Regions from separate parts of the Homo sapiens genome. Here regions 1 and 2 are each linked to region 3. The links are contacts of gene promoters, found by promoter capture Hi-C in blood cells and fetal thymus (Javierre and others, 2016). All regions are on one chromosome and are shown on one strand. The core of a region is centred on a gene start or on the middle of the fragment in contact, and the rest is flanking DNA. Distances in the headings are between cores, read along the strand shown.

What was found. The method cuts DNA at HindIII sites, captures the fragments that hold promoters and counts their contacts. A CHiCAGO score of 5 or more calls a contact.
Region 1: a contact is called between a fragment that was not itself captured here and the fragment with the promoter of MAP2K3 in region 3, in 14 of 17 cell types (naive CD8 T cells, fetal thymus, erythroblasts and 11 more). The highest score is 10.6, in naive CD8 T cells.
Region 2: a fragment that was not itself captured here is called in contact with the fragment with the promoter of MAP2K3 in region 3 in 3 of 17 cell types (M0 macrophages, M1 macrophages and M2 macrophages); the score reaches 5.8 in M0 macrophages.

Annotation. Positions count from the first base shown.
Region 1 is chr17:21,211,285-21,215,226 of GRCh38, forward strand. It overlaps TMEM11 (transmembrane protein 11), which reads right to left and starts at 2,877. Exons shown (of 2, transcript NM_003876.3): 1 at 2,807-2,877. The coding sequence starts at 2,868. It overlaps TMEM11-DT (TMEM11 divergent transcript), which reads left to right and starts at 3,041. Exons shown (of 2, transcript NR_184102.1): 1 at 3,041-3,166. RefSeq lists enhancers at 2,779-2,878, 3,649-3,858 and silencers at 2,959-3,098, 3,219-3,488. The HindIII fragment of the contact is 571 bases long and covers 1,367-1,937 here.
Region 2 is chr17:21,167,798-21,171,931 of GRCh38, forward strand. The region is part of intron 1 of DHRS7B (dehydrogenase/reductase 7B); the gene reads left to right. Among named protein-coding and RNA genes, the nearest start is that of DHRS7B, 43 kb to the left of the region's middle. The HindIII fragment of the contact is 506 bases long and covers 2,628-3,133 here.
Region 3 is chr17:21,282,929-21,286,893 of GRCh38, forward strand. It overlaps MAP2K3 (mitogen-activated protein kinase kinase 3), which reads left to right and starts at 1,783. Exons shown (of 12, transcript NM_145109.3): 1 at 1,783-2,041. The coding sequence starts at 1,993. RefSeq lists enhancers at 855-1,355, 3,432-3,491 and a silencer at 1,242-1,771. The HindIII fragment of the contact is 5,771 bases long and covers 1-2,762 here.

The DNA of each region.
Region 1 (3,942 bases), core at 402-2,901, 72 kb before region 3:
TCCACCCCTCCTATCTTAGTCGAAACCAGCACTGTCCATATCATAACTTTCTGCAGTGATGGAAATGTCCTCCACCTATGCTGTCCAATATGGTAGCCACAGGCCGGAAGTGGCTATTGAGCACTTGAAATGTGGCTAGTGAGACTGAGGAGCTGAATTCTTCATTTTACTTAATTTTAATGAATTTAAATGTAATTGCCACATGTAGCTGGTGACTACTGAACTGCTGTGTTAATTCAGCACTAATTCTAGAGCTGTGGTTCTAGACTCAACAAGGTAAAGCAAGAACCCACACGCTACACGTGCTAAACTGGACCATCCAACACACAGCGCCGGCAGTAATACTGCAGGCAGTCTGGCACTGGGTGGGACCTTTAAGTACAATGCATGCTTCAGAGTTGGTAGCCGCTGGCAAATCTGGCAAGTGTGCCCAAAGTGTCACTCTGTTCTAGCCCCTTCCCCAAACCAGATAATGTTTCCCTCAGCTTCAGCAAAAGCAGATGCTAACCAGGTGTGAGCAGCAACGGGAGAGAGCACTCGTATAACATGGAGCTGAGATTTGAGTCAGCACGAATGTGACATGGAACAAAGTCATTTTAGAGAGCCATAAACAGCCTACTTCAGTCATAAGAGCCAATAATACACTCAGATCTCATAATCTAGAGTGCTGGGCCATCAGCTAATCCGCCCTGCCCCACCTGAACAGTCATCACCAACTGAGCAGGAATGGAGGGATGCCCAGAAGTCAGCTCGCTAGCCCCACAGCGGGTTATGTTTCCATCCCCTGCTCAGCATGGGAAGAGCTTAGGGAAGCTGGGCTCGGGGAAATGACTCTTCCAACAGAACCTGGCTAGGGGTTTACAGCAAGAGCAAACAGACAGGTAGTCTCCACCCATACCACGTTATCTAGGAGAGTAGATGGTGACATCCAAACTACAAAACCAAATGCCACATTCCTGCTGACACACAACATCTGCGTGTGTGAGTAGAGCCTTCAGTTCCAGGCCAAAGGTGCAACCTGAACACCTACAGAGACCAAGCAGGCAAATGCATTGAGTCAAGCTGACAGGTGATTTGAGTCAAGCTGTCAGGTGATTTGAGTCAAGCTGTCAGGTGAGGAACCAAGAACTGGAACCAAGCACTTGTCCCGACCAAAAAGAGTCAGCCACTACCCAGCTTTTCAGGGAGCGTTTTATATGAAATCTGCTGGCAACTAATTTAAATTCTCTTAAAAACTGTTGAGGTTCAACAGTCAAGGACTGGATCCAGCCTATGCACTGCTAATTTGCAGATCCATTTTGAATAAACAGTTGTCTCAAGCCAAAACAAAAACAATTCTCAGCATCTATTTTCTTAGATCAATAAAAGCTTAACCTGTGCTGGCAAGGCTCCTGTTCCCTGCCTGAGGCATCCCTATTCGGCTCTTTTCAGATGCTTTTAGTCCAACAAGAGGGCGTATGTTTCTAATACTTTGTTTTCTAAACAGGTTATTTCGTATTACTGTTTGCATTGAATATCTTGAAAATGTTTGCTAGTTTTTAAGAGCATCTGAAAACCATTGAGGTAACTTATTTAAATGGTCCAATCTAATACCAGGCGGGAGTTAGAAAAACAAAAGTGTGTTTACCACTGCTTTTCCAAGGAAGAGGAAATGCAGAATGGGCAACGCTGGATAACTGGGCTAAAGAATAAAGTGCAAGCAAGCTAAAGGATTCTATCACAACTGCCAAACAGGAAGAATCTTCCCAGCTGGGAAAGCCATCTGCAAGCAATAGCAATGAACACGGGATGGAATCAGTCACAGAAAAGGAATAATGCAGAGTAGTTGAGAGGAAGATAACTTTTCTGTTAGACAATCCTCACCAAAAAGACGGGGAGGGGGAGAACCAGCAAAACAAAAACTTTTCCTTTTTTGCTGACCGCTGCTATAACAATCAAGCTTTAGCGGACAGTTAATCCAGGTGGCTCCACCAATACATCTTCTCCCAAATTTCTAGTGGCTGAACAGCTTCTAGTGGTTTCCACTAGCTGAAACTGCTTCCCAGATGCAAAAACTGCAACTTGAACATGAAACACGGAAACTACTCCAATCTCATCTTCTAGAAATCAGTTATTCAAATGGAGGTCCCTGTTGGAAGAAACACGCTCCTAGCTCCCTGCCCACACACCATTCATTAGGAAAGGTCACTTTAAAGGACTTCTACGGCAGGAGCGCTTGCACAGAACCATCCAAAAGTCTTCAGAATCTTCCCTCGAGGAAGTGGCCGGCTCTGGGCTCGGAAGAGACACATCTGGCGGGAGCTAAAGCTCCCTAGTAAACGTGCAGATCAAACTACCCCTGCCGCGGCCGGCCTGCTCTGTGAAGGCTTCCCCTTCTTTCTCTCTCCGGGGGCCCTGCCTTCCTCTACACGTCTGGGGCCGCGGCCGAGATGGCCACGCGCGTGCCCAGGCGGGAAGGGTGCTTCAGCAGCCGATCGGCCCGCGGGCAGCTAGGCGGGTCCCTGAGGCCTGCGCTGGGCGCCAGTTCCTTTCAGCACGGCCCGGCCTCGGGCCCCGCCCCGCATGGCCGCTGCCTACCTTACTCAGCCCGGCTAACGCCCCTTCCCCTAAGCTCTCCGCCGAGGCCTTCGACCTCGCTCCCACCCGGATCCCGGATCCTCCGGAACTGGAACCCAGTATGCCCGGCGAGGGTAGGGGGAGCGCGGGGAAACCAGGGAAGGAAGGCTGCTGCAGCCCTCGGAGGCCGCGCTGGGCTCTCCGGCCGCTGAGCCGCCTGCACTGGGGGCAACAAGCCCTTGGATCTCACCTCTCTCGGGCGCTGCCGCCACTGCTGCCCGGGCCAAGACGCCTCCTTCCCCAAGCGGCCATCTTGGAGACACTCTGCTTGCCAACGTCTCGCGCCAAGGCGGCATCGGGAGAGCAGGCGGGCCGACGGGAAGTGTAGTCCGGCCTGCGGTCCGGGGCCGCTCGGCAGGCGGAAGCCAGACCCGGCGGAACTACCGTGCCCACAAGGCAGCGCGCCGGAAGCCCCGCCCCCGGGGTCGCCGGGGCCCGTAGTCCTTCTGCGAGGGCGCGAGGACTCCAGGAGCCGTCCTGGTTCGAGCATTTCTGAAGAAACTGAGTTCCCGGCGTTCGCAGCCTGGGAGTCACAGGCGCCCACCCACCGGTAGGTCCTTGAGTTTCGAGAGCCAGTAGCTGAAGGAGAGAGGAGAGGCAAGTGCCTACAACTCCCAGAGCACTGCGCGGAGGCGCCCGGCCGCGCTGTCCTGGCCGCCAGGCTGCCTCTCCCGCTGGGGGCCGCCGCGCTGTCTGCGGGCTACTAGCGCCGGGCCCCTCCGCGTCGCCACGCCTGCCCTTCACAGCCTTGGCCCATAAGGTCACCGAGGGGCGGGAGGCGCCGCCCGGGCCCTCCTTGGAGGCGGGCGCTGCTCCCGCACCATCCTCCCCCAGTTCTCTTAGACTCCGGGGTACTTTGGAGGCCGAGACAGACACGCTGTCCCTGCTGCCACGGAGGTCCCTGCTTGCAGGTGCAGGCTGTTAGAGGAGAGGGTCTGAAAACAAGAAAGGGGAATAGCTGTATGATAACTGCTTGAAGGCGAGAGGGCCCAGCGACAGCTCTGTTTTAGACAGGGCCTCCAGGCCTCTTAGACTCAGTCCCTGCCACGCACCCACTCCTGCCCTGGCCGCTGCGACGGCATAATCTCGGGATCTTTGAAGGCAGATGCGGGGCTAAACCATCCCACCTGACGGGAACCCTGCCACAGGACCCGACATATCCCTGTCTGGACACTGCTGTAACGAGTCAAAGTCAGGAAGGACTAACTGGAGCCCAGAGATTCCCAGGTGCTGCTGCCTCAGACCTGTGGACTCTTTGGAGGATCTCTTACAGTTTGTGAACTTCTCAGTTCCTCTACTGCTCCCACAGACAACGTTGCTAAACAT
Region 2 (4,134 bases), core at 1,631-4,130, 110 kb before region 3:
ATATATCTGAAACTAGCAGTTAATAAGGATTTTGGTATAAAATGCATGATTGATAAATATATTAAAGTTTATACATATATATAAATCCTTCTTGTATGCCATTTTCAAAGAAAACAGGCCTCCCTTTGACCTTGCTTTATGTAGATTTATTTCCTAATCTGGAAATGTGGCCAGCTAGAACACTGTTCCTTTCTTCCACTGTGAAGCTGTCCTTTTAGCTGGTAGAAAGCCCTGGACACCACAGCAAGGTGGTGGGGCTTTCCATGGCTAGCTCTCATGGTCATCCTGACTTCCAAAGACAAGCTAGGAAAGTGTTGGCACAGCTGTCTCTAAGAACCCAAGAAGGCCCAGCAGTGTGGCCACATGCCCTGCATAGTGGAAGAACTATTAGGAGGGCTTTCAGAGTTTGAAAAACTCTGGAAAGAGTCGGGATTATCAATATGAACAACTTCATCTAGTCAGGAAAGTTATGCTGGAATTGAACCTGATTCTCAGATAAATGGCTCACTCTGGGGTGTCTTTTCCCACCATGGTCATTCTTTGTTAGCAGGGGAGAGTTGGCACTGGATTTTGTTTTTTGTTTGCTTTTGAGACAGGGCCTCACTTTGTCACCCAGGCTGGAGTGCAGTGGTGCAATCTTGGCTCACTGTAGCCTCAACTTCCTAGGCTCAAGCAATCCTCCCACCTCAGCCTCCCAAGAAGCTGGGACTACAGACGTGCACTACCATACCTGGTTAGTTTATGTGTTTTTTGTAGAGACGGGATTTCACCATGTTGCCCGGGCTGGTCTTGAATTCCCAGGCTGAAGCGATCCCCCTACCTCAGCCTCCCAAAGTGCTGGAATTACAGGCGCGAGGCACTGCGTTTGGCCTTGGCACTGGCTTTTAATTTGCTTTGCATTCTGATTCGATAGCACTTTACCAGACTGAATGCAGACATGCGCTCTCCCCACAGACAGCGGCCCGGGCCAAGGATGGATCCCATTCACCCGGCGCCATGTTTGCCTCAGGCAAAGTGGTCTCCAGGGCCAGGAGACCAAGGCTGGCCTGTGATGTTGTGTCAGGTGCTCAAGGAATCCCAGAAGTGTACAAGACGGTGTGTAGTTTTCGCTCTTTTCTTCATGTCATGGATTGCTGGCTTGAGTTTTAATTAGGTTGCATGAAAGTGCAATTTGTTGGGAACTTTAATCATCTTCCACTGGGGAGCCTTGCTGGGCTGGTTTATTTTCATCCTGCTCCTCCCTGGGTGTGAAGACGGGGTTGAGGGACATTTTAGTACCTGTCTGCTCTCTCCTGCTTTGCTGGCCTTGATAACCACATTTTCTAACACAAAACTTGGGACATGAGAGCCTGACTTCTGCCAATGTTGTGGAGTTTTTTCCTATTTGTTAATTTGATTAAACTGAAAGGTTTATGAAAATATAGAAGTTAAACAACATTGGACACTTAATACATTTAATGAGCTTCCTTTATTTGGAAAGAACCACACTTCACAAGCCAGGGGTCCCTTCAGACAGTCTTGGGAGTCGGATTGCTGGGAGGTGAGGTCCTGATCCAGGAACTTTGAGTTAATGGTGGTCATTATGATGCTGGTGGCAGCTGTGTTCCCTCTGTGTACAGATGAATTCATCCAACCTCATAACAAACCCAGGAGGGAGGTCCTCTCACAACTTCAGCTCAGAGGCGAGGACACTGAGGCCCAGGGCAGTGAGGCCCCTTTGCCAGGCTGCCAAGTGACTGGGCCAGGGTGTCACCCAAGCCAGGCTGGCTTGAGGGTTCATCCTCATGACCCCTGCACTGCCGCTGTTGTGCTGCAGTTAGTGTTTTTCAAGTGGTCTCTGAGTTTTGAGAAGCGACAGGCTGCATACTTGGCTCTTGACCCCCATGACCTCGGTGGCACTGTGCCTCAGCCCCAGGTTGTCAATTTGAAATTGGGTGGACTTCACAGGCACTGGCCTCCAGGGGCCCACGGAGGAGTGTTCGGAGGGGTTTCCACCCAACACGCCTAGTGGGGCTCTGGGTCCCGGCCCCAGAGGCTGAGCCCTACTATCCTTCCCTGAGCTGAGGCCCCCACCCCTTTCATACCTCAAGCTCATCCTGGGCAGTGGCTGGGCCCTGGGCCATTCTGGACAAGGCAGGGTGGTCCTACCCTGAGACCTACCTGGTACAAAGACCTGGGATTGCAGTGAGAAAAAAGCTTTTACCAAATAGCCATCCAGCCGGGTTGAACTCTTCCCAAGCCCCCACCCCTCAACCAGCTTATTACATGCAAGTTTTAAGCTATCCTTGCCTGGAGCCTTCTCTTGCCTTTTGTCAATTGCTGTAATTTTCTGGTAAAGCTATATCAACAAAATGGCAACCATTCCTGCCTCCCACTGTTTATCCCTCCTTCCCCTAGGAAACCCTCCCACATTCCCTGTTTTCAGGATCTTGGTCCCGTGCAGGACTCCAGGCAGCACCCACAGAACCCTGGAGTGGCACAGGCCTCGGTGCCTACTCTACAGCTTTCCTGAGCACTTCTCAGATTCCACACAAAGGGTCCTTGGGACCCAGCATAGCCTGCAGGCAAGAACACCTGGTCAGAACTTCCTCTTGGGGCAGGGATGGTACCAGTAGTGCCTGGTGAAAAGCTTGGTGCTTTAGATACCACCTTAATCCCCAGTTCATACAATGGAGGCTTGGCATAGTGTAGGGCAAGAGGGAGCTTTATCCATGCAGCAGATAGTAGCTGAGGTGTTTTCAGAGGTGGATTAAGTGGCAGTTGATGGGAAACTGTCATTTTTACAGTCCAAGAATGTGGCTGTTTTTTATGGTGGTTAAGAATTCAGGTGTATCTGGAAAAGCAGGTGAAAAAGTAAATGCTAATCTAGTTCAGTTGACAGTTCCGTTGCAGTAGAATCCTCTTGTAGGGGGCAATTTAGCATAGATCAGGACAGCCACCCTGAACATGAACTTCAGGATCAAAGCGACTTGGTGCATAGATGGATGTGTGTTGGGAGTCCACAGTGTTCCTGGCTTCACTCTGGCATCCAGAGTTGATGTCCTCTTACGAAAGGAAGCAGAATTTTTTTTTTATATGTGGGCTTGAGATGGGATATTAAGTAGGTGGCTGAGGGTTTTACATTATTGCTCCAAGCTTATGAATAATTTAGAGCTACAGTCTGGTTTGCCAGAACTCTCTTCTTGGATTCCAGCCTCTTCCTTCCTGAGAAGGATTCTGTGCTCGTAAACCACAGCCCTGGAGGTGGACTCGGGGGGGGCCTTTTGTCTCATAGACTCTGGCTCGCTCGTCAAGTGGCCTTCCAGGGCATTGCTTCCCAGCGACAGCACATGGTGCTCACCACGGTCCTCACCAGCTCCTCCTCAGCCTTCCTTTAACCCTGTGTCCCCCTCTTATCTCCTGCTTTGGGCACAGGAGGACAGGTGAATGCGGAGGAATGGGGGAGGTTCAGGGGAAATAAGGGCAGATGGGGAAAAACACACATTTTCTAAGAATCAACTGCACACTGTTGCACAGACACTCATACAGCCTCCAGATTTCATGGCTCACTGGGGAATGCTGGGCAGGAACATGCCACAGGCACAGCGGGGCAGCACGCTCACCGGCCGGAGCCCATGCTGGTGCTTGGGGCAGGGCCCTGCACTGAATCCCCTTTGGGTGTCTGTGAGGCCTGTGGTCAGAAGTCCATCTGTGGCCCTCACTGTAACAGTCTAGGGGCTGCTCCACCCAGAAACGTCCGTCCTCTGAGTGTCTGCTCTGAAGAGGATAAGAATTGGTACGACTTCCTTTTTCCTTTCCTCAAAAAACCCCTTTCTAGTTTCACAAGTATTCAGGGATTGAAAATGAAAACAGGCATTACTTGAGGTAAGGCCAACACAGGTTTCCGAAGGAGAGGCAGGTGAGTACTGACACACCACCTCTTCCTGTAACACTGTGGGTGACTATGTCCTAGGCTGAATGGCAATCTCCGCTTGTTCCCTGAGGGGCAGCATGAGGCCTGTGGCTTTTCTGTCCGCTCATGTCAGTACTGAGAGGAAGAAAGTTCTACAATGCTGAACAGTCGGCCGAGGGTGCAGGGCCTGGGTCAATGCTTGCTAGGGCTTAGAGCTGGAGTCCACAGAGGGAGATCTGGGA
Region 3 (3,965 bases), core at 533-3,032:
GAGTGTGGCCTTGTGCAGAAGTCAAGGCTGTTGGCCAGTGCCTGAACCCAGAAAACTCGCTGGACTAGCCTTGCAGTTCTGGTAGAAAGGAAGCTGCTCCTGGATGCCCATTTTACAGACGGATAAGCACAGGTCACCAGGGATGATATGGCAAGGATGGAGGCAGCCCACAGTGTTTTCAAACTCACATTTCCTGGGCACCTAGTGAGTGCCAAGCCCTAGGCCAGGTGTTTCCACTCCTGAACTCATGAAACGCTTTCAGAGACCTTATTGTCCCCATGGGATAGGTAAACTGAGGCACAGAGCTGCTCAGTGACTTCTTTAAGGTCATCCAGCTAGTAAGTGGAGGAATTGGTATTGGAACCCATACCTATCTGAGCCCCAGACTCATGATTTTCCATCCCACTGCCTGGGAAGGGTGAACAGGAGACGCAGGAAGAGAATGGTGATGGCTGCAAGGCTTCCCTCTTATCTCCTGTGGCTCCCCACTCTGTGCATGGGGCCCTGCATCACCCCCACTTTACACCTGGGCAAGCAGAGGTCAGGCCCGGCCTCAAGCCTTTCTAGCAGGTGGTGGAATCTGCTTCCCTCACGTGAGGTCCCTGACAGGGTACACATGTCTGCCTGGAGGCCAGGGGCTGACCCCTTGACCTTTGCCTGGTACATTCTGCCTTCACTAGCCCTGGCTTTACATCCAGAGTCATCTGTTCCCAGCGCCAGATTGGTCAGCGGTTCCTGAAATCCCCCGAGGTTCCGTGTGGGAGCAGAGGGAGGACTGGCCCATCCAGCCATTATGCAGATGGGCAGACTGAGATCCTAGGAGGAGAGGAGAGAACGAAGGTCCAGGAGAGAGCCAGGATGGGGCCTCGGGGCTCGCGGGATAAAATGCACCGCATGCCGCCTCACTCCCTCTGAGACACGGTTTCCCCCTGTGTAGAACAGGGGCAGCAGTAACCAGCCACGAAAACTCCTCGTGCTGCCTCGTCACCGGGCATCGCTGAGCTCACCACCGACCCCGCGCCCTGGCCGGGCGCCTGGAGCGCGGGCGCGGGCGACGTTTGCTGGCGCCAGGCCCTCAGTGCGTGTTAGCGAGCAGCGCCGGGAGATAGCTGTCACCGCCGCCCGCTCACAGATGCGTAGACTGAGGCTCAGGTGTCACCACCTGACCAAGGCTAGTTCCGCTACAAAGCTGCCGACTCGGATCCGAACCCGGGTCCAATTTACAGAAAAGGAAACTGAGGCCCAGAGACACTAGGGAGCTTGCTAGGGTGAGGCAGCTGCAGGTTCAGAGAGCCAGGAGGCAGCCCAGCAGCGCACTTTTAACCCCCGCCCACTTCGGCAGGCCCAGCCGTGCCACCTTTAGGGATCTCGGGTTTTTTCCAGACGACGCACCCAGGAGAACGCGCCCGCGCATCGCACCCGCCGGGGCTGCGGGTCTGGGGGTGCCGGGCTGGGCCTGGGCGCCTGCAGGGAGCAGCGGGCTCAGTGGGTCCCGGGAGTGGGTGGGGCTTGCATGTTGACGGGCAGCGCGAGGGGCGCGGCTTTAGTCCAGGGGGCGGAGCCTGACCGGACCTGGGTTTTTCGGGCGGCTGGCGGACTTGACAGAGAGCGGGAGGGGCCCGGATCCTGGGCCTAAGGAGGGTGGGGCGTGTGCTTGACAGGCAGGGACAGGCCGGCGTCTGATAGGCAGAGGACGGGCCTTGGAAACGAAAGGACCAATCGGGCACGCAGGGGCGGGGCCTGAGTCAGCGCAGTTCGGCCGGGGTCTCCCCGGCGCTGCCCAGTCTGTCTCCGGCGCCGCCCGTCGCGGACTCGTCCTTGCTGCAGTCGCCGCCGCAGTCCTCGCCGCAGTCGCCGCCGCCGCCGCCGCCGCCGCCGCTGCTCCTCCGCCTGGCCTGGGCCGTCTGCCCGCAGCCATGAGCGTGCTCGGCCCCGGTGGAGCCCGCAGTCCTCTAGATTAGTCTCCACCGCCGTCCAGGACCCACTTGCAGCATGGAGTCGCCCGCCTCGAGCCAGCCCGCCAGCATGCCCCAGTCCAAAGGTAGGCGCTCCCGGCCGGGACCTCGGCCTGACCCCGCGCCTAATCTGGGGCCGGGCTGCAAACCCCGACCTTTCTTTGGTCCCACCCCATCCTGTTCTCGACCTGGCAGCGGCGTCCGGTCCCGGAACCCCTTCCTGTTCGGGGTCCCGGGACCAGCCCCCGCCTGGGCCCTCACCTGGACCCCCACGTTAGGCCTTGGGACTGCACTCAGGCCCGAGATCACCCAGGCTGGACCCAGACTAGGACTTTGTTCTGCTCACCCCATCCAAGTCAGGAGCCTCATTCTGACCTCATTTGGGCCTTATGGCTGCAGCCTGGACATGAACTCTCCCAGTCTTCTCCCTCAGCGGGACCCAGGTGAGATTCACACTGGCCTTCACCTGGGTCCTTGGGCAGCACCCAGTCCCATTTCTAGCTTCGGGTCCCAGGGCTGTATCCAGGTTGGGATTTAACTTGAGTCTCCATCTGGGCCCCAGAGTGCTCCTGTTGTTGCGGACCTCACTGTACCCCCTATGCGGGTGCTCTGGCTACACCCCAGCTCGGAACTCCCCGTCCTTCTCTCCCCCAGCTCTTCTTATCCTTATAGGCCCTATGTTGCCCCTTCCCTGGCTGGCCTGCACCCTGTCCTGCAGCCCTGGGCTCCCAGGAACCTTCCTTGTCCTCCCACCCCTCCCTAAGGTACAGCCCCCTCTCTACCGGCCTCTCTCTGTCTTGAGTTGCAAGCTTCTCCCTGCACTGGGGGTTCTCACCCCATCTTATTCTTGTCCTGGCTGCCTGGGATCTGGGCCAGCCGCCAGGCCAGGGTGCTGGCTGTGCAAGGGATTTGCTCTTCTCCAAGTAGCTGGCCTTCCTGGAAATTTTTGTGAGGTGGCAGCAGCAGGATTTGTCATGCGGAGGGGGAAGGATGAAACTCGGAGGGCAAAAGGGGAATTTTTTTTTTTTCAGGAAGAGGAAAGGATGTTTTTGGTGCGTCGGAGTTTCAGTAGGCTGGGTTGTGCGAGAGATTTCCAAACCGGACATAGCCGTAATGAATGGGCTGCCTCCTGGCTTTCTGAACCTGCAGCTGCTTCACCCCAGCAAGCTCCCTGGTGTCTCTGGGCCTCAGTTTCCTTTTCTGTAAATTGGAAGTAATCGCACCTGCTTCTGTGGACGTGGGAGTGTGGTGTGGGGTGGTGAATAGTAAAGAGCTCTGAGGCGTTCTCTCAGCGTAGCACCTGGCGCAGAGCCGGTGCTCACCAGGGTACACTGGCTGCACACATCTCGCTATTGTTTCCATTCTTCTTGCTGGAAAGGCCTCCACTGCTGGAAGTGCAGCCTCAGAGTGAGCAGGAGGAAGCACCTAGCAGCGGGCACCTAGTGGGCACTTCATCAGGGGTCAGCCGCTCTTCTGTTCTGGAGGGTGCAGGCCAATGGGAGCCCTATGTGGGCCTGGGGAGGGCATGGGCTCTTCCTGGCCCCTGCTGCTGGCTGCTATGGTGGCTGGAGCCGGGTGGGCTGGATAATTATGCCTTACATAAGTGGGAGGCCGGATCCCTGACCATTGCCCAACCACTGTGAGTAACTCGGGAGGCACTCGACGGGGGAGGTGTCTGGGGAGGGACTTGCACTGCACAGACCTCGTGGAGCTTGGGAACCAGGAAATCAGACACTTCTCCACTCTGGAGAGCTCGGGGAAGGGTAGGAAGCACTGTTTGTTTTGGAGGCTTTTTAGCTCTCCAGGCAGAGAATGCCTCATCAAAATAAAAGTTCCAGTTGCAGAGTTGTGAAAGGAGAGGGGTCATAGATGCAGTGAGAATGCTGTGAGAGGGCCAAAATGAACTTCTAGATGTGGACCCAGGTCCTAGATGAGGTTGAGGGGGCTGGATGGAGGGTCAGGGACCTCCCTCAGGCCCAGGGACTCTGTAGTCTCTTTGGGGTCTGGGGA